Regions from separate parts of the Homo sapiens genome. Here all the other regions are linked to region 3. The links are contacts of gene promoters, found by promoter capture Hi-C in blood cells and fetal thymus (Javierre and others, 2016). All regions are on one chromosome and are shown on one strand. The core of a region is centred on a gene start or on the middle of the fragment in contact, and the rest is flanking DNA. Distances in the headings are between cores, read along the strand shown.

What was found. The method cuts DNA at HindIII sites, captures the fragments that hold promoters and counts their contacts. A CHiCAGO score of 5 or more calls a contact.
Region 1: a contact is called between a fragment that was not itself captured here and the fragment with the promoter of CAAP1 in region 3, in 5 of 17 cell types (naive CD4 T cells, non-activated CD4 T cells, fetal thymus and 2 more). The highest score is 8.9, in naive CD4 T cells.
Region 2: a contact is called between a fragment that was not itself captured here and the fragment with the promoter of CAAP1 in region 3, in 3 of 17 cell types (non-activated CD4 T cells, total B cells and naive CD4 T cells). The highest score is 10.8, in non-activated CD4 T cells.
Region 4: a contact is called between a fragment that was not itself captured here and the fragment with the promoter of CAAP1 in region 3, in 1 of 17 cell types (total CD4 T cells). The highest score is 5.1, in total CD4 T cells.
Region 5: a fragment that was not itself captured here is called in contact with the fragment with the promoter of CAAP1 in region 3 in 1 of 17 cell types (total B cells); the score reaches 5.5 in total B cells.
Region 6: a fragment that was not itself captured here is called in contact with the fragment with the promoter of CAAP1 in region 3 in 2 of 17 cell types (activated CD4 T cells and naive CD8 T cells); the score reaches 9.0 in activated CD4 T cells.

Annotation. Positions count from the first base shown.
Region 1 is chr9:33,003,292-33,006,511 of GRCh38, reverse strand. It overlaps a transcript of APTX not described here. Among named protein-coding and RNA genes, the nearest start is that of APTX, 3.3 kb to the right of the region's middle. The HindIII fragment of the contact is 833 bases long and covers 1,465-2,297 here.
Region 2 is chr9:32,552,698-32,556,085 of GRCh38, reverse strand. It overlaps NDUFB6 (NADH:ubiquinone oxidoreductase subunit B6), which reads left to right. Exons shown (of 4, transcript NM_002493.5): 4 at 2,142-3,085. The coding sequence ends at 2,210. It overlaps SMIM27 (small integral membrane protein 27), which reads right to left. Exons shown (of 2, transcript NM_001387564.1): 2 at 3,079-3,285. The coding sequence ends at 3,163. Among named protein-coding and RNA genes, the nearest start is that of TOPORS, 1.8 kb to the right of the region's middle. RefSeq lists an enhancer at 3,012-3,388. The HindIII fragment of the contact is 3,131 bases long and covers 1-2,889 here.
Region 3 is chr9:26,891,021-26,894,579 of GRCh38, reverse strand. It overlaps CAAP1 (caspase activity and apoptosis inhibitor 1), which reads left to right and starts at 1,778. Exons shown (of 6, transcript NM_024828.4): 1 at 1,778-2,167. The coding sequence starts at 1,865. RefSeq lists enhancers at 1,549-1,618, 1,220-1,799, 1,749-1,968, 2,049-2,228, 1,800-2,379. The HindIII fragment of the contact is 2,677 bases long and covers 1,314-3,559 here.
Region 4 is chr9:33,031,858-33,035,322 of GRCh38, reverse strand. DNAJA1 (DnaJ heat shock protein family (Hsp40) member A1) reads right to left here. Exons shown (of 9, transcript NM_001539.4): 6 at 993-1,107. Among named protein-coding and RNA genes, the nearest start is that of DNAJA1, 8.3 kb to the right of the region's middle. The HindIII fragment of the contact is 7,193 bases long and covers 1-3,465 here.
Region 5 is chr9:19,371,179-19,374,284 of GRCh38, reverse strand. DENND4C (DENN domain containing 4C) reads right to left here. Exons shown (of 33, transcript NM_001330640.2): 32 at 2,465-2,529; 33 at 4-2,248. The coding sequence ends at 2,112. Among named protein-coding and RNA genes, the nearest start is that of RPS6, 7.5 kb to the left of the region's middle. The HindIII fragment of the contact is 2,119 bases long and covers 689-2,807 here.
Region 6 is chr9:19,105,392-19,108,907 of GRCh38, reverse strand. It overlaps a transcript of PLIN2 not described here. Among named protein-coding and RNA genes, the nearest start is that of HAUS6, 4.2 kb to the right of the region's middle. The HindIII fragment of the contact is 3,804 bases long and covers 1-3,516 here.

The sequences.
Region 1 (3,220 bases), core at 632-3,131, 6.1 Mb before region 3:
AGGTAGGTACTCTGCCTCCAACTGCTTTTCCCTTAGAGCAGGAGTCTCAAAATCTTAAAGAAAGAAGGGCTTTCAGGGGGCCAGACAGGTTATATAAGTGAGTGGGTGGAAACAGTGGCAAACTGGAGAGCACATGGCAGCTATTCACAATTCTAGCTATTTGTTGTTAGACTTGGCTAGATTTATTGATTTTTCCCCCAAGAGATCAGGAATCCTGATTTTTAAAAAAAATTCTTTTTATTAAAATTTTTTTTATAGAGAGAGGGTCTTGCTATGTTGGCTGGGCTGATCTTGAACTCCTGGCCTCAAGCAATCCTCCTGACTCATCTTCCCAAATGCTGGGATTACACACATGAGCCACTGAGCCCAGCCAGAATCCAGGTTTTCATGTGAGATCTCATTTCTAACTGTTGGAATTAAAACAAACAAACAAACAAACAAACAACAAAACCCTGAGCAGAGTAGCCAAAAACAATCTTGAAAAAAAAAAGAATAAAGTTCTTATACTTCCTGATTTCAAAAAGTATTACAAAGCTATAGTAATCAAAACAGTGCAGTACTAGTGTAAAGACAGACATACAGACTGATGGAATACAATAGAAATCCCAGAAGTAAATCCTTGCATAAATGATTAAATGATATTCAGTAAGTATGTCAATACCATTCAGTGAGGAAAGGGCAGTCTTTTCAACAAATGATATTGTTAAAATCTGGGTATCCACATGCAAAAAATTGAAGTTGGAGCCTTACCTTACATAGTACAGAAAATGAACTCAAGGCCAGGCACAGTGTCTCACACCTGTAATGTCAGCACTTTGGGAGGCTGAGGCAGGAGGATTGCTTGAGCCCAGGAGTTCAAGATCAGCCTGGGCAACATAGCAAGACCTCTGTCTCTATTAAAAAAAAAATTAGCCAGGCTTGGTGGGACATGCTTGTAGTCCCAGCTACTTGGGAGGCTGAGGTGGGAGGATTGTTTGAGTCTGGGTGGTCAAGGCTGCAGTAAGCTGTGATTGCATCACTGCACTCCAGCCTGGGCAACAGAGCAAGACTCTGTCTCACAAAAACAAAAACAAAAACAAAAAACAAAAAAATAAAACCACACCTCAAAAATGGATCAAAGACCTAAACATAAGACCTAAAACTATAAAACTCTTAGAAAACATAAGGGAAAAGTTTCATGACAGATTTGGCAATGTTTTCTTGGATATAACACCAAAAGACAGGCAGCAAAAGTAAAAATAGGTAAATTAAAGTACTTCACAATTAAGTTTTGTGCATCCAGGGATACAGCCAGCAAGCAGAGTGAAAAGCACCCTATGAAATGGGAATCTTATATTTGATCAGAGGTCAATATCCAGAATATATAAAGAACTCCTACAACAAAACAAAACAAAAATAACCCCATTAAAAAATGAAGTACTTGAATAGACATTTCTCCAAATACATACAAATAGACAGGAAGCTTATGAAAAGATCAACATCACTAATCATTAGGGAAATACAAAGCAAAACCACAATGAGATACCATTTCACACCCATTAGGATGGCTGCTATCAAAAAAAAGTAACAAGCGGCCGGGCGCAGTGGCTCACACCTGTAATCCCAGCACTTTGGGAGGCCGAGGTGGGTGGATCACAAGGTCAGGAGTTTGAGATCAGCCTGGCCAATATGGTGAAACCCCATCTCTTCTAAAAAAAAAAAAAATACAAAAATTACCCGGGTGTGGTGGCAGGCACCTGTAGTCCCAGCTACTCAGGAGGCTGAGGCAGGAGAATCGCCTTAAGCCGCGAGGTGGAGGTTGCAGGGAGCCGAGATTGCACCACTGCACTCCAGCCTGGGTGACAGAGCGAGACTCCATCTCAAAAAAAAAAAAAAAAAAAAGGGTTGGCAAGAATGTGGAGAAATTGGAACTCTTGTACACTATTGGTAGAAATGTAAAATCATCCAGCTGCTATGGAAAACAGTGTGACAGTTCCTCAAAATATTAAAAATGGAATTACCATATAATCCAGCAGTTTCACTTCTGTGTATATATTCAAAATAATTGAAAGAAGAATTTTTAAAAATTGTTTCACATTAAAAACAAATTTCAGTGGCTTTAGGGGTACAAATGGTTTTTGGTTTCATGGATGAAGTGTATAATGGTGAAGTCTGAAATTTTAGTGTACCTATCACCCGAGTAATAGTTACACCCAATATGTAGTTTTTTAAAATCTCTCATCTTCCTCCCACTCTCTCCACTTCTGAATCTCCAATGAACATTATACCACTCTGTATGCCTTTACATACCCAAAGCTTAGCTGCCAATTATAAGTGAGAACATGTGGTATTTGGTTTTCCATTCCTGAGTTACTTCACTTAGAAAAATGGCCTCCAGTTCCATTCAAGTTGCTTCAAAAGACATTATTTCATTCTTCTTTATGGCTGAGTAGTATTCTGTGGTGTATATGTACGACATTTTCTTTATGCATTCATCAGTTCATGGGCATTTAGGTTGGTTCCATGTTCTTGCAATTGCAAATTGTGAAAACAGGATCTCAAAGAGATATTTATACACTCATGTTCATAGCAGCATTATTCACAATAGCCAAATGGTGGAATATCCACGGGTGGATGAATGGATAAAGTATGGTGTGTACATGCAATGGAGTGTTATTCAGCTTTAAAAAGGAACTTTTTACACATGATACAATGTGGATGAAACTTGAGGACATTATATTAAGTGAAATAAGCCAGTCGCAAATGGGCAAATACTGTCTGATTTTACTTACATGAGGTACCTAGAGTGGTCAGACTCATGAAAACTGTAAGTAGAATGGTGGTTGCCAGGTGGGGGAGGGAAAATAGGGAGCTATTTAATCGATACGGAGTTTTTTTTTTGAGGCAGAGTCTTGCTCTATCGCCCAGGCTGGAGTGCAGTGGAGTGATCTTGGCTCACTGCAACCTCTACCTCCCGGGTTCAAGCAATTCTTCTGCTTCAGCCTCCCAAGTAGCTGGGACTACAGGCGAGTTCCGCCACGCCAGGCTGGTCTTGAACTCCTGACCTCAGGTAATCCACCTGCGTTGGCCTCCCAAAGTGCTGGGATTACAGGTGTGAGCCACCGTGCCTGGCCGAGTTTCAGTTTTTCAAGATGAAAAAGTTCTGGTGATTAGCATGGCAATATGAAGTGCCTGAAAGTCTTCACTGCCTGCCATACCTTTAGCTATACATTGTGCCATG
Region 2 (3,388 bases), core at 75-2,574, 5.7 Mb before region 3:
CAAATCCATGATCTCCAGATGATGTAAAATAGTATGTCAGGTTTATATATGACTTCTGTTGATCTGAGGATCAGTGAACTAAGAAGACAAGTTAACTGTATCCTTGTCCCCCAACCACACCCATTGTTCAGTGGTAGAATTTGGATAGCATAGTAGTCACTGGTTCTTGGCAATCCTGAAATCTCACTCCTAACCCGTGTGTGAGAAATTACTTGAATGGGCACTGATTTTGTTTTCTTGAAAGAACACCTTTATCCATCGTTCTTCCTGGTTCCTGGCTCTGTCCAGGGGGTTTGTTCTTTTCATTATCTACCTAGACCACATCTAAATGGTATTGGGAAGCATGCCCTCCTTAGGGGGCTGTATGGGCTTCAGAATCTGCCACCTGCTTGCAGGAGGTTGAATGCCAGAGGTTGTTTTAATTTCAAACATTCTGGCAGGATTCTGTAAACTATATGTTTGGTTTGTCCATCCATTTCCCTTAACATTTAGAAGCATGAAAAGAAAAATATTTGGTAGACATCTAATGTGTTTACTTCTAGTCAGTGTCTCATGCCAGTATCTGTTTTTCCTATACACAGTTACCAGCTTGTCTCATTTCTTTGTCCTTATGCATCTGCCTCTCTCACCTCTGTGGCAGCTATGTGGAGGCCATCTGAGGCAGACTGGTTCAAAGGCTACCTTCATTTTAAACTGATCTTTGCCATAGGGCTGTGTCCCTCTGTTTGAGTTTTATTGGGCTTCTGTTGCTCAGATTTCTTGTGTTAACTTATTGTTTAGGAATTCTGAAGTAGTGTGATTTTTCAATACCACAAGGTCCTGATTTTTTATTTATTTTTTAGATACAGGGTCCTACTCTTGCTCAGGCTGGTTTTGAACTCTGGGCCTCAAGCAATCCTCCTGCCTTGGACTCCCAAAGTGCTGGGATTACAGGCATGAGCCACCATGACTGGCCCAAATTTTTAGATTCTATTAACTTTTTTTTTTTTTGGTCAGGAACAGAAAGTCTCTAGCGTGCACCAAAGTGTTCTCTCGTCCTCTCCATTTTTATGTCGCCTCTCAAATCAGCCACTTTTTGCCTGAGCTCATGCTTCTTAAAGTACATTCCCAAGGCATCCAAGGATCCCAAGGATCCAAACACATACTATAACTTTTTTTCCCAGCTACTTCTTCTAGAACCTCAAGTTCATTAGGCAGTCAGCTTCCAAGTTATAGGAGATATTTTGCTAAATAGTTTGCCACTGCCTTTTGTTTCCATCTTTATCTTTGCTACCAGACTGCTAAGCCAGTGCCCTATAGCTTGATTTTTATTACAGCAGCATTAGTGCCACTTCAAGGCAATGATTTCTATTGGGATAATGCTAGCTGTACTAACAAATTGTTGCCCAAATGTATAATGGCATAAACATATTTATTTTTTCATTGGACTATAATCCTGAGCAGTACCAGGTCAGGGAATGGCAGGGATTGGGGTGGGTATGGGGACAATTCTACTCTTCCCAGTCATTCAGGGACTGGCAGGCTAACAGAATCTATCTTAAACACATGGCTGAAACTGAAATTGAATAATCTGTCTTAAAACTATACAGCTTGTCAGTGGAGGTTCCAAGATTCTTACCACTTGGTTCTGGCTTCAATGCCCATGCCTTTTTGCCCACATCTATATCAAGAATTGAAAAGACATCTGGACCAGCTGCCTAGCCAAAGTTTGTATTCTGTATTCAGTATGTAAGCCAATCAGAAAACTGGTGATTGCGTAACACATTCAGTTGCTGGGGGTACATTACCTCCTTATCTGGAACTGCAGATGTTTCCTTGCAACTTCTTTCTGGGGCCTCCATTTATTGGGGTCATACAAAATAAAAGATTATCCCTTTATCACTTAGAGAACACAATTTTCGTGCCCTTTTTGATTATTTTGTTTCTGAGTGAAAATTTCCCTATTATTTCACTATACCTTAAAATTTTGAATACTGATTGTTCAGATTTAGTCAGCTTCTACTTTGTCTAGGGTCCTTTTAAAGGGAATGCCAGAACTCAAGTACATTTTCCATGTGAGATCTGATGAACATAGAACAGAATAGAACTATCACCTCTGTAGACTTAAGATTTTTGTACTAACTGTATCTTTGTTTTCCTAGGGTGATACAATTCTGGAGACTGGAGAAGTAATTCCACCAATGAAAGAATTTCCTGATCAACATCATTAAAGATTATGTAAAAAGTTAAAAGGCTTATGAGCCTAAGTTTGTTCCTATATTACCATATTTACTGAATTTTCTGGAAAAGTAACTTTAATAAAGTTTAATCTCAGAAATTGTCATATCTGTTTTCAAGCATTGTACAATTTGAGACTGAGTAATTTAACAATAAGTAAAAAGTGGACATGCTAAACAAATATGAGAGACTACCTACTTTTTCTGGTCATTCTTGACTTGGAAAACGGTATGGAAAAGTATTTAGTTACATGTTTGTTTGTTTTTTTCTTACACAGTACTTACACTAATTTGGTATCAGGGTATGCAACAGTGAAATATCACAATAAACAAATGTAAGAACAGCAATTCCATGCACTTTTGTTTTAAGGAAATCTTTCCGGCCAGGCGCAGTGGCTCATGCCTGTAATCCCAGCACTTTGGGAGGCCGAGGCGGGCAGATCACGAAGTCAGGAGATCGAGACCATCATGGCTAACACAGTGAAACCCCGTCCCTACTAAAAATACAAAAAAATTAGCCGGGCGTGGTGGCGGGCTCCTGTAGTCCCAGCTACTGCGGAGGCTGAGGCACGAGATTGGTGTGAACCCAGAAGGCGGAGCTTGCAGTAAGCCGAGATAGTGCCACTGAGCCTGGGCGACAGAGCAAGACTCCGTCTCAAAAAAAAAAAAAGCTTTCCGAATCATTTTTGAAGAATTTAGAAACTTGATTGAAAAGCTTATTCCAACTATGATCTGACACTCAAGACTGTCAGATTTAGGTTGCTGTTAATTTTGTCATGAGAATGTAAAATACTAAAATCTCTAAGTGAAAAATTTGCATACTAGTGCTTGTTATAAAGGATAATGCAAAAATAAACTTGGGAACTTTGCATTATGAATTTTATTTTTATATCTACATAAGCATGAGGGAAAGAACTGTATTTTCAGATAATTAAATCCAGAAGAGTTACAAATTTTCATTCGTCCCAAAGATTTTGTCTGGGTATTTCTTCCTTAGCTGTCGTCTTGCAGACACCATCGAAGCATAGATGATGCAGCCCCAGGAGATTAAAACGATGGCAAGCAGCAACTAAACCAAAAATCGCAAAGGAGGTGTGAAATCTACCTGATATTTCCCCTCGCCCCCGTCAGGTTACCGTTGCCATTGCTAAGGTGGGAATTAAAGTAACAAA
Region 3 (3,559 bases), core at 529-3,028:
AATGTAGGGTGCCACAATGTTCTACACATGTGGGGATATGTGGGGATGGCCATGTTGCTAGGCACATGTGGGGACAAGAAGAAGAGGGGAATCGCCATACTGAGTAAACCCAGTTTCTAACGGCCTGCATTTGCATATCATAGCTTGCCAGCCCAGCTTTTTTGCTAGACAAGAAACATTTCTGGAGCTGCTTTAAAAGAAAAAAAACTTCCCAAAGACCCCTTTACCTCTCTATCTGCCTAAAATAATTTCTTAACTTCTGTAACACCATTGGAGTACAGAATCTGGTAAATATCTCAAAATGGAAAACTTGAGATTTCTTAACCGAGTCAAAGATATCTATAAAGCAATAAGCAGCTATAAGGAAGTGGGCTATAGGAAAAGTTGGTTAACGTTTAGCTATGCTTCTACTAAAAGCTTATCTTTTGTCACAAATCCAGCAATTTGGCAGGGCACGATGGCTCACGCCTGTAATCCCAGCACTTTGGGAGGCTGAGGCGGGTGGATCACCTGAGGTCGGGAGTTCGAGACCAGCCTGACCAACATGGAGAAACCCCTTGTCTACTAAAAATACAAAATTAGCCCTGCATGGTGGCGCATGCCTGTAGTCCCAGCTACTCAGGAGGCTGAGGCAGGAGAAATGCTTGAACCCGGGAGGCGGAGGTTGCAGTGAGCCGAGATTGTGCCATTGCACTCCAGCCTGGGCAACGAGAGTGAAACTCCGTCTCAAAAAAAAAAAAAAGAAAAAAGAAAAAATCTAGCAATTTAGTTTTATTAAAATTATGATGGTTTCAGGGACACAATTCATAACAGGTTTATAAATGTAACATGTTATTAATTTTATGTGTTTTTCCTATCTGTGAACACAACACTCTCAATCCTTTCAGGTATGACTCCAATGAGTGTGATACTTAACGGAACTCCTGGGAACACAGTGGGCTCAGCCCCAGGATTTACCTTACAAGGCCAATTTAAGAGTGGGGCCTGGGGGAAGACAGTTTTCCTAGGGCTGGAAGTGTCCCTATTTATTAACCCTAGGCTGGTTTTAGGCATTTAAGTAGTTGTTGAATGACTGAGACAAATAGGAGACAAAGAGAAGGGAAGCTTCTTTAATTGCTTCTTACCCCAGGGAAAGGCACAGAATTACTACCACCCAGCTAGCTTTGCCCCAGGCTCTACCTTTTTCCCTCAGTGGCTAAAGGCCCCTGCTGAAACGACAAAGACCTTGGTTCACGTTTTAAGTGTTCTAGCTCCCTTGTCTTAAAATCTGCCTTCTATTTAGATTACATCCACCCATAAAATCTCATAAAGCTTTGACCCATTCTCAATTTTCAAAAACGAACTCAAGCTCTACTTGTCCATGTCAGACTCTACGCAAGAAATACCTAATTTGCCCAGGTGATGAGGAAAATGAGATGGAACAACTTTTCCCTATTCTCTTTATTGTCATAGCGTTGTTAATATCTTAAGATTTGGAGGTAAACGGAAATGGAGAATCAGCAACTATACTTCAACCTTATTGTAAACAGACAAAACACTAACAATAAAAAGTTTTGAAGTTAAAAGGACGTAAGTTCCACCTTCTATCCTTTGTAGAGATATAAAAACAAAACAAAACAAACTCTGACTAGACAGGCTACCCGCTACACACTCAAATCGACCTCCGCGACCGGAGGGGGAAGCGCAACTGGTTATGGCAACCCCCCTGCCACCCCGGCCCATAACGCTTCACCACGTTCTGTGCCACGGCCGGAAGTGACGCATAACCTGCGACGCCAGTGCCTGCCGCCCACGGCCGCAGGAGTCGGGCTTCGGTCGCACCAGAGACAGCGGACTTTCCTCCGATGGTTGCAGCAGAGGGATCATGACGGGGAAAAAGTCCTCCCGGGAGAAACGGCGCAAACGTAGCAGTCAGGAGGCGGCCGCAGCGCTCGCGGCCCCGGACATCGTACCCGCGTTGGCCAGCGGCAGCAGTGGAAGCACTAGCGGCTGCGGGAGCGCCGGGGGCTGCGGGAGCGTCAGCTGCTGTGGGAACGCCAATTTTAGTGGAAGTGTCACCGGCGGTGGGAGCGGCGGCAGCTGTTGGGGCGGGAGCAGCGTGGAGCGCAGCGAGCGCCGGAAGCGGAGGAGTACCGACTCTTCCAGCGTCTCGGGCTCCTTGCAGCAGGTGCGTGCGCGCCCCTCTGGCCGCTTCCTGGAGCTGCTGCTTTTTCGGAAGAAGTCGGGCTTCCAGAGGGATGGGGCGCAGGCTGGAGCTCACTGCTAGCGCGGCAATCTCAAGGTCGTCCGTCCTTGAGGTTCATGTTCCTACCTAAGTCCTGGTGAGCCCCACACTCCCATCCGTGTCTTGAATCTTGAACTTCAAGTTTCTGGATTTCCTGATCACTTTTTTTTTAATTTATTTTTTAAACTCTTGGCTCCTTCCACTCCTATGGTTTCACTCTGCCGGAAGAATACGAGTTGGAAGCTAGCCTTCATTTCCCTTGCGAGCCAAACACTTCTCCCTTCGTCTTCACCTTTTCGTAGATATGGTTAACTCCGCATTAGAGATAAGAAAATTGAGGCCCAAAGAAGTTAAACTTTACCCACGGTCACAGAGTTTGTTAATAGCTCCTAGGTTTGAATCCAAATATCTGACTACAAAAGCCATGTTCTTTATACGCCACCAGTCTGCCAAGAGAACGCCGTTTTAAAAAAGTTCATAATTTGTTTGAAAACAAATGAATGAATAGGTACTTTAAATTCATTCAATGAGGAAATAAAGGGAAAGCGTCAAGTCCCTTTTCTTGCCCCTCCATTAGTATTTTGATACGCGGCCTCTTTTAATCACTCCTCGTGAGATACGTGTTTTTAAGTTCCTACACTTAAGCTGTATTGTGTTATTCCCGCTGTTGAATACCTGCATTGTTGTGATAGGCTTCTTTATATACGTGGTTTGTTATTTTTACTGACTGCCTGGTATTGTATTATATTTTTCTGATATTTGGGTGTGCAGGTTTTTTTGTATTGTTGTGACTACAATACAAACACCTTTATGTATATATCTCCTACAAGAGTTATGTTGGGAGAGAGTGTGAGAACTGAAATTCCTGGGTCAAAGTTTATGCTATTAAAAACTTATGAATGCCACCAAATGCTTTCCAAATGAGACTTTACAGATTTATAGTCCAAACAGTATATATATAAGAATACCTATTTCTGAGATTCTTAACTAGCTTTTGATGACATTTTGATGGCATTTTTTAAAAAAATTGCCAGACTAGTGGGTCAAATTAATAGTTTGTTTTAATTTTTATTTTCCTTATTAGTGAGATTGAACATTTTAATATTTTTATTTGCCATTTGATTTCTTCTTATGTAATTTTCTGTACATATCCTCTGCTCATTATTCTCTTTGGTAGAGTAGAAACAGTTTATGTAGAGATTTTATCAGGTGGTTTTCTGGCATTCTGTTGAGATGATCACATACTTTTTCTCCTTTAGTCAGATAATGTAATTTGTTGATAAGTTAGTTGATGTTGAACAGTCTTTGGAGTCTTGGGACAAGTGCTGTTTGGTT
Region 4 (3,465 bases), core at 965-3,464, 6.1 Mb before region 3:
TGGCGCCATCTCAACTCACCGCGACCTCTGCCTCCTGTGTTCAAGTGATTCTCCTGCCTCAGGGCCTGCCACCATGCCTGGCTAATTTTTTAATTTTTAACAGAGATGGCATTTCACCATGTTGGCTAGGCTGGTCTTGAACTCCTGACCATCCACCTCGGCCTCCTAAAGTGTTGGGATTACAGGCGTAAGCCACCAAACCAAGCTGAAATATTAATTAATCCTAAACTAGTTTAAGATGTTCCCAATTTCACCTCCACTCCATTAAAAAAAAAAAAAAAAAAAGGTGGGTTCTTACTGTCACCCAGGCTAGAATGCAGTGGCATGATCATAACCTTGAACTCCTGAGTTCAAGCCACTCTTCTGCCTCAGCCTCCCCAGTAGCTAGGACTCCTGGCCTCAAGTGATCCTCCCACCTCAGCCTCCCAAGTTGCTGGGAATATAGCATGCACAGAGGGTGTTATGTTAGCCATGGATCACAAACATTTGCTGTTAATCATCCATCTTTCTTGTGCTTCAGTGTTCATCATACTCATTATTTAGCTCAAAATGGTAGACCTGAATTTATACTTAGTATTGAGTTACAATTTAAGTTTCCTACAGAGATGCTTTTGGATATTTATAATTAAAAGCAATTCAATTTATCATAAATGAGATTGAAAACTGGTGAGAGCTTTAAGGCACTTAAATTGCTTTACAAAGATTGAGGGCAAATTTTTGTCCAGGGATGTTTTCCCCACCCATCTGCTGCTTAGGTTCACACAAAACATCTAATTGAAACACATTTTCAACGTTCCATACTTAGAGACAAAAAGCTAAAAATCTGATCCTATGTATTCAACCTCTTATGATCTGAACAATGGTTAACAATCTTCCTGAGAAATAGGTTCTAAGAGTAATGGAAAACACTTTAAAAAAAACAAAAAAACAAAAAACAAAACCAACAACCCAAATATGTGATATCAATTTGAGTGGTTGATAAAAGTCTTTACCGAGTAAAAACAGCATGGTCCTTCTGATCTAACACAATGATAATATCGCCTGGCTCCAGTCCTGGTTCTTGGTCTCCTTCACCATGGAATGTTATCTTCTGGCCATCTTTCATGCCTAAAAACAAAACATTAATTTTGTACTTTTATTAAATATCCAACTAAGGTCAGAATCATAAAATCTATACATAGATGTTTGTTTATGCATAAAAATCACAGAAATGACTAAGAAAGCCCACTTAAGTAGTTCAGTCCAATTTGCTCCTGAAGAAAGGTATCATAGTGGAGAACACAAACTCCAGAGGCAAAGAGACTAGCCTTCAAATCTCAGAGCTGCTATTCACTGGCTGGATTACCCTGGGGAAGTAAGCTGCATATCCTTTCCAAGTTTCAACTTTCCCACAGACACCTACACCTCATTAGCAATATTTAGAGTATTAACTCAACAGGTATATGCTGGTACTAAACCATGACTGGCTAACACTGGTTATAACCAAAAAATGTTAATTAAGTATTTCAGTTTCATTACTTATAACACATCAAATTACTTCTATTAAAAGTCTAACAGCAATGTAAATCAAGACCCTTCTATTGTAGTATTTATATATAAAACTAAAAAAATTTTAAATCTATAATCTTCTCTTGAGATAGGATCTTGCTCTGTTGCCTAGGCTGGAGTGCAGTGGCACAAACATGGCTCACTGCAGCCTCCATCTCCTGGGCTCAAGTGATCCTCCCACCTCAGCCTCCCGAGTAGCCAGGACCACAGACCAGCTAATTTTTGAATTTTTTTTTTTTTAATAGAGATGGGGGTTCTCATGTCGCTCAGGCTGGTCTTGAACTACTGGGCTCAAGGGATCCTGCCTCGGCATCCTATAGTGTTCGGATTACAGACCTGAGCCCCTGTGCCTGAAAATCCGTATTTTAAAGAACTATTCAGTATAGTCCCCTTAAAAAAAGGGTAATTATACTTTGAGAGGCCGAGTCAGGAGGATACCCTGAGGATAGCACCCTGGAGCACAGGAGTTCCAGACCTTGTCTCATTTAAATTAAACAAGCAAACAAAACAATCAGTGCTAGACACTCCCTTAGCCCATGTGGTCCGTAAAATACAAGGGGAGGAGTATTTTCTAACAGGGCAAAAAAACACGCCTTTTTTTTTTTTTTTAAACTGAGACTTCGTGCCCCTCACCTCTGACCCACATATTTTAGTTCAGTAAGGGTTTGGGCAACGTCTCTTAGAACATAACTCATGTAAGAAAACCTGTGTTTGTAGAGTATTACACCAAAGCAGTTATCTCCTGATTATTTCCCAAGATCACTCTGGTTACCTAACAGAGCAATCATGTTTCACCTTTACGTATGGAAAATATTAATCCTGTATAAACAGAGCCAACAGTACAATGAATTCCTACATATCCATCCAATTTGGCTTCAGCAGTTACTAACTCATGACTAATATTTCATGTATTACACCCCTACGCATGCCCCCCACATATACTTTCAAGCAAACTCCAACTATATCCATTAACCCACAAATACTTCAGTACGTACCTCTTAAATAAGGACTTAAAGCGCTATCAGTATCATACACTGACAAAATTAAACAATCTGTCTTTAATCGTGTATTGAGGCAAAATAACTTGTTATGCTAGGGAAGCAATTAAACTCAGCTAGGTTTTCCTGAATACAGAGTAAGAGTAGGCACAGCACAAATGCCTTCACTTGCTATATAGTTAGGGCATTAATTTCAAGTTCTCACTTACAGTCCATTGTTGATAGGTTCTTGGAAATTGCTTTAAATGAAATGACACATAACAAGACCAATTTTTTTCCCCTCAGCTGTGTTACAGTGACATGACATTATTTGAGGACCTGCATGACATTATTTGAGGTCATTCTGCTAGAAGTCCCAGTTTCCAAGAACCTATCAACAACGTTAAGACTTACTCTGTATGCTATTGGTATCAAGAACACCTCAAAGTATAAACCTTAGGCATGGGCCCACTAAGGGGTAAACACAGATTTATTAAGTTCAACAACTGGCCAAGGAAACTTATTTTTACCTTTCAATGTACTACATTCTTGGGTGGAACCCTGGGGGTCAGAGAGGCCAGTATCATGAGTCACATGATAGAATCCTATTGCAGCCACTTATGTTAATGTAGATTTGTATATTAATATGGAAATATGTTCAAATATTAACAGTTCCAGATTGGTATCATACCACAGTACAGTATAATAGTAGACCCATTTATAAACAGCAAAATCTGAAAAGAGATTACCATAATGTTGACTTAAGTTTCCTTCTGGGGTTATATACATTTCTTAAAATTTCTGCAGTGTATTGCTGTAATACATTTTAAAATGTTTTTGCAAGTTGACAAGAGTAAAATTTAAAAATTGACAAATCAATCAAATCCCGAGAATACAAAAAAAAGGTTATATAGTTATTTCTAAATCTGGAGCCCAATGG
Region 5 (3,106 bases), core at 499-2,998, 7.5 Mb after region 3:
AAGTTTTCAAGGTAGAGATCTTTACAGATTTTTTTTAATGGGAAGCGCGTCAGTAAGTGAAAACTTGAGTTCAAGTTACGAGTGAAGGAATGGAAAAAACAAAATATTGGGATTCTAAAGATTACAGATTTCAAGAGGCTTAATGTAACAGAAAACAACAATTTTTCATTTTATTCAACCTCAATTTTTATATGCAAGGTAATTCCAAACTTCTGTTGGGTCAGTAAGTGTTAAGTATTAAAACTAGTACCAAGTCTTGAGTTGCAAAAATATATACTCTCAGACAGTGCAAAAGATCCATTTTGAAGGTAATGAAAATTGTACATAATTTCTGACAAATTGTTTCATTTAGCATTTTCACAATAAATTCACACTAGAATTCTGCATAGGTCAGATTAACCCTGAAATGTTGAAAGACTGGTACAATAACTATAATTTGTAAATGGTTACATCAGGTAGAAGGGAGTTAGGTTGTTACTGTACCATATGGAAGTAATTTTACTGTGTCAACTCATTTAGTCATCTGCATAATTACTGTAAACACACACAAAACCAATGGCTTTTTAAACCATGCAGAGAGTTAAGGCAAACTTACTGTTCCTAAGGGATATTTTTAATAAAAGGCATGATAAATGTCAAAGTGAGGCATGTGAGATCATGATTTTCTTAAACCTACTGGCAACAAGCTTAATAAATTTACAGTTTTAAGACTTAATTGATTCAACCTAAAAACACAGTATTTACAAATGCACATTTTTACTCACAAGCATACAAATCTAAATATACAAGAATAAAACTTCCGTGTGCAGTGCAAGTTTATCCCACAGGTTTTAAAAAGTCATCAATACCAACAATGTATGTGCCTGAAAAAAGATTTCATGTTCAATGACATACACTTTAGCATTTTAAGCACATTCCAATGAATTCCATAAATTATTAGGCAGCTGATTTAATTTCATTTTAACTATCTGATGATTGATTCATTTGTTCCCATTTTAAAACTATTGCAAATTAACATTGGGAAGAGGATGGAAGTAACTGGATAATCAAGATAAAACCCATTAAGCAAGATAATACATAATATGAAAGGTGTATTATGTTGGTACAAAAATAATTGCGGTTTTTGCCATTAATAGTGGCAAAAACTACAATTAATTTTGTGCCAACCTAATACATTAAAGTTAGGGAAGGCAGCTGTCATCAGATTTTCAGGTAATTTTAAGATTAATGACTACAGACAAGTTTAGTAGTAGTCATTTATTTAATAGTCAATGAGACCCCTTTCAGAAAACCGTATTGCAACATGCAATCTATTTTAATAAATATACACTTAGAATATGGCTGTATATACACATACCTACACAGCCCTACACATATACAAACTTACACAAATATGTTGCTCTCTTTTTTTTTTTTTTTTTTTTTTGAGACGGTCTCACTCTGTCACCCAAGCTGGAGTTGCAGTGGCGTGATCTCCACTCACTGTAGCCTCTGCCTCAGTTCAAGCGATTCTCCTGCCTCAGCCTGAGTAGCTGGGACTACAGTGGTGCGCCTGGCTAATTTTTGTATTTTTAGTAAAGACAGGGTCTCACCGTGTTGGCCAGGCTGGTCTCGAACTCCTGGCCTCAAGTGATCCACCCACCTTGCTCAGCCTCCCAAAGTGCTGGGATTACAGGCCTGAGCCACCGTGCCCGGCCATGTTGCTTTTATAATTGAGATATTTCATTTGTTTTGGGGGTTAGGCAAATTTAATTTGCCATTCCTCAAACTCAGTAACTTCAAATATAAACAATGCCTAGAATGAATATGGTTCCTCATTATTTCTATCAAACTACTACAAATACTGAAGAATCCCAAAGTAGTTTTCCACAGAGGCAGAAAAGCAGTTCAGGGGTTGAAAATCTTCAATATTAATAAGCCCTGGGACATTCAAATGGCACTTCATATTTCAAGGTAATGCAATATGAATCATAATTCATTATATATTGTCCCCAAGAGTTACTTCAATTCCGTATTCACCAGTTCTTACGATTTGGAAAAAAAAACTTGAATGTTTCCAGATGAAATCTAATCCCCAAGCCTTGTGTGTCAACATTCTAGTGAATCTCTATTTAAATGAGAGGCGCTCCAAAACACTTCCTGCACCACTCGACACTGGCACTTGGTGGAGCATCAATTTTCTGCAACCTTTCAAGAATCTCTGAAGACAGACTATTGTATGCAATTCCATATTCATTGTCAAATGCCTCTGAAAGAAATTTTCAAAAATGAAGTTGTAATTTGTTAAGAAAGACAACAGCCGTTCATTTCAAATTGGTATTGAGTCAAATTATATGTATTTGAACTATATATTTAGAAGTAGAAATCTTTTAAATCTTTTATACATACCAGCTACATTTTTAAAAATTACTTTTGAAAATAAAATGTAAAACTTCCTTTCATAATCTTTTATTAACCAACTTACCAATATCAATATTCTCTCTTCCTAGAGACACTAATGATAAGAAGAGGATTTCTCTGTATAAACTCCTATAAAACAAATATGTTTTAAAAGTCAATGGGCAAATAGCATAAAAACACAGATGCATTTTTTTTAATGGTGAAGACATTAAGTTCTGTCATCTAGTTAATAGTAATATAACTATGTCAATGTCCTGGTTTTAATATTACATTACAGTTAGTTATATGAGGTGTCACATTTGGAGGAAGCTGTGTGAAGGCTACATTGAATTCTGTACTATTTTTGTAACTTCCTGCAGGTTTCTATTCCAAATTAAAGTTAAAACATAGTTAATGGGCATAAAGCTTCACACTAGTAACAAAAATGGCTTAACTTTATTACATTTCAACAATACATAACTGTTTTAACTCTAATTTCTAAATAAAATTTACAAAAGCAGAGTCTTCTCTCATCTTTTGTCACTTGACAAAGTAACAGATTAATTTCTAAGTAAGTTAGGGGTCTAAAACCCTTGACACAAACAATGTAAAAGGTGGTGTGGTCTCTTTACTATTTAACCCAATAGCAAAGGACAGTTCACCTTTATTTGGTTTGTGAGCATTAAAATGTTACAAATGAAACACTAAAAGTGAGCTTCATGACTCA
Region 6 (3,516 bases), core at 585-3,084, 7.8 Mb after region 3:
AGGGAATTGCAGGAATAAGACCACAAACATCTTTTCAAAAAGCACAGCTATGGACAAAGCAAGGTTCACCTACATGCACTAAAGTCTCCATGAGCTCAGATGGACCTGACAACTCACTTCATCGGTGTTTGTTTCAATATCCAAGATTCTTCTTTTACAGGTGTTTGATTTCACCACCATAGACTTGACATCTGAGACTGATGAAATTCCAGATATTATAGCTTTGGAAGAGGAGAACGGATCAAATAATTCACATGCTAATGGCCCTGTCCTCTCAGGGCAAGATGTTGAATAACTAACAACAATAAAATACCCCTTTTGGTTGAATACGCAATTTGTATTACATTAAACTTCCTGTTTTTATTCCTGTGACTTTGAAGAGTGTTAATCTATTTTTTGGCTACATTGGTCTTAATTGCAATGACACTCTGATCTAAACTTTTGTAAGAGATCCTAGTTCTGTGTCATATAATCATTTAATATAATTAAAGTTTAATTGCTGAAATACTTATAATGAAAATTGGGCTGTATAATCTTGACTTCATGATTTTTTTTCCCACTGGTATAGTGAACATTTGTTGTCTTTTGGTCTCCCATGATTCATTCATGCTTCTTTTGAAGGTCTCAGTGGGTATAGTGGTCAAGGTTTTTGCTTTCCCTTAGCCTAGTGATGGGCATGTGACTAAAAGCAGGTCACCTGGGAGGAAGCATAGCATGATGGGTAAGGGCTCAGACTCTGGGTTGTAATCTGGCTCTGCTGCTTACTGTGTGACCTTCAGCAAGTTACTTAATTTCTCTATGCCTCATTTTTTTCATCAGTAAAACAGGAATAGGGCTAAGTTTGCTCTGAAGATTAAATAGTTAACATTTGTGAAAAGCATAAAGCAGTGCCTGGCACAGAGCCGCATTAAGTATTAGTTGCCTGTAATCCCAGCACTTTGGGAGGCCAAGGCGGGTGGATCACTTGAGGTCAGGAGTTTGAAACCAGCCTGGCCAACATGGTGAAACCCCGTCTTTACTAAAAATACAAAAAAAAAAAAAAAAAAAAAAAATTAGCCGGGCTGTGGTGGCACAGGCCTGTAATCCCAGCTACTCAGGAGGCTGAGGCAGGAGAATTGCTTGAACCCAGGAGACAGAGGTTGCAGTGAGCCAAGATCACACCACCGCCCTCCAGTTTGGGTGGCAGAGTGAGACTCCATCTCAAAAAAAAAAAAAAAAAAAGTATTAGTTAAGGGAGTAAACTGTAGAAGCAATCCGGGGGCAGTGGCTCACACTTAGAATCCCAGCACTTTGGGAGGCCAAGGTGGGAGAATCACTTGAGCCCAGGAGTTCCAGACCAGTGTGGGCAATATGGTAAGACCTTCTCTCTATAACAAAAAACCTTAAAAAATTAGGCTGGGCACAGTGGCTCACGTCTGTAATCCCAACACTTTGGGAGGCCAAGGCGGGCAGATCACTTGAGGTCAGGAGCTCCAGACCAGCCTGGCCAACATGGTGAAACCCTGTCTCTACTAAAAATACAAAAATTTGTCAGGTGTGGTGGTGGACGCCTGTAATCCTAGCTACTCAGGAGGCTGAGGCAGAAGAATACCAGCCTAGCCTGGAATTCCTGGCCTCAAGTGATCCTCCTGCCTTGGCCTCCCAAAGTGCTGGGATTACAGGCATGAGCCACTGCGCCTAGCTGCCAAATCTTAGAATGAGGCCTAGTGAGTGAGAACTAAACTCTGATCTTTTTTCTTTCTTGTCCAAATTCCTATCTACAGAACTTGGGGAGTCATGTCCTACAAGCCATAAAAATCTCATCAGATGGGTTTTGTTGAAGCCTATATAACCCAGCTTACTTTCCAACCTGACTAGCATAATATCACATGACAGATAAAGAAGGAAATCAAAATATTTTTTCCCAAAATATGTTTCTTTGTTATATTTTGAAATGGTCCTGCAACGTCGTCGCTTATGGGGAGAAATCTACATCTGTAAAGAAGCTGGCTGGTGGCTCACGCCTGTAATCTCAGCACTTTGGGAGGCCGAGGCAGGCAGATCACCTGAGGTCTGGAGTTCCAGACCAGCCTGGCCAACACGGTGAAACCCCGTCTCTACTGAAAATACAAAAATTAGCTGGGCATGGTGGCGCATGCCTGTAATCCCAGCTACTTGGGAGGCTGAGGCAGGAGAATTACTTGAACCCAGGAGGCAGACGTTGCACTGAGCAGAGATGGCGCCACTGCACTCCAGCCTGGGCGATAGAGTGAGACTCCGTCTCATAAATAAATAAGTAGATCTTTCCCCTGGCAGGCCCTCCCAATCCTGAAGAGATTAACTGAGGATCCAATACTTGCTCTGTCACCCAGGCTGGAGTACAGTGGCGTGGCATGTGATCTCAGCTCACTGCAACCTCTGCCTCCTGGGTTCAAGGGATTCTCCTGCCTTAGCCTCCCAAGTAGCTGGGACTACAGGCGTCTGCCACCATGCCTAGCTAATTTTTGTCTTTTTAGTAGAGATGGGGTTTCACCATGTTGGCTGGGTTGGTCTTGAACTCTTGACCTCAGGTGATCTGCCTGCCTTGGCCTCTCAAAATGCAGGATTACAGGTGTGAGCCGCTGTGTCTAGCCTAAATTTTTTTTTTTTTTCTGAGACAGGGTCTTGCTCTGTTGCCCAGGCTGGTGTGCAGTGGCATGATGTGGGCTCACTGAAACCTCTGCCTCCTGGGCTGAAGCAATCCACAGCCTCAGCCTCCCAAAGTGTTGGGATTATAGGTGTGAGCCACCGCATCCAGCTTCTAGTACTTTTGGGTGGCCACCTATGAGACTTCATACTAACCCTGGTGTCCACAACCACTTATCTTGACCTAGAAACTTTTCTATGGATTCCAGGTCTTTAGATAGTAGCTTGACTCTAAACCAATGGCAATCATAAAATCTTTGTTGTTGTTGTTGTTGTTGTTTTGTTTTGAGACACAGTCTCACCCAGTCGCCCAGGCTGGAGTTCAGTGGTGTGATCTCGGCTCACTGCAATCTCAGCCTCTCGGGTTCAAGCGATTTTCCTGCCTCAGCCTCCCGAGTAGCTGGGATTACAGGTGCGCACCACCATGCCCGGCTAATGTTTGTATATTTAGTAGAGATGGGGTTTCACCATGTTGGCCAGGCTGGTCTCAAACTCCTGACCTCAAGTGATCCGTCTGCCTCGGCCTCCCAAAGTGTAGAGATTACAGGTGTGAGCCATCACATCCGCCCCAATCAGAAAATCTTTGAGTCCACCTATGACCTGAACCCACCACTTTGAGTTGCCTCACCTTTCTGTACAGAACCAATGTATACGTCACGTGTATTGATTGATGTCTTATGTCTCTCTAAAACTGTATAAAACAAAGCTATAGCCCCATCATCTTGGGCACATGTTCTCAGGAACTCTTGAGACTGTGCCTCAGGCCATGGTCATTCATATTTGGCTCAGAATAAACCTCTTTAAATATTCTGTTAGAGGAACCCCTGCTTACCAGACCTCTGGTTTAATAAA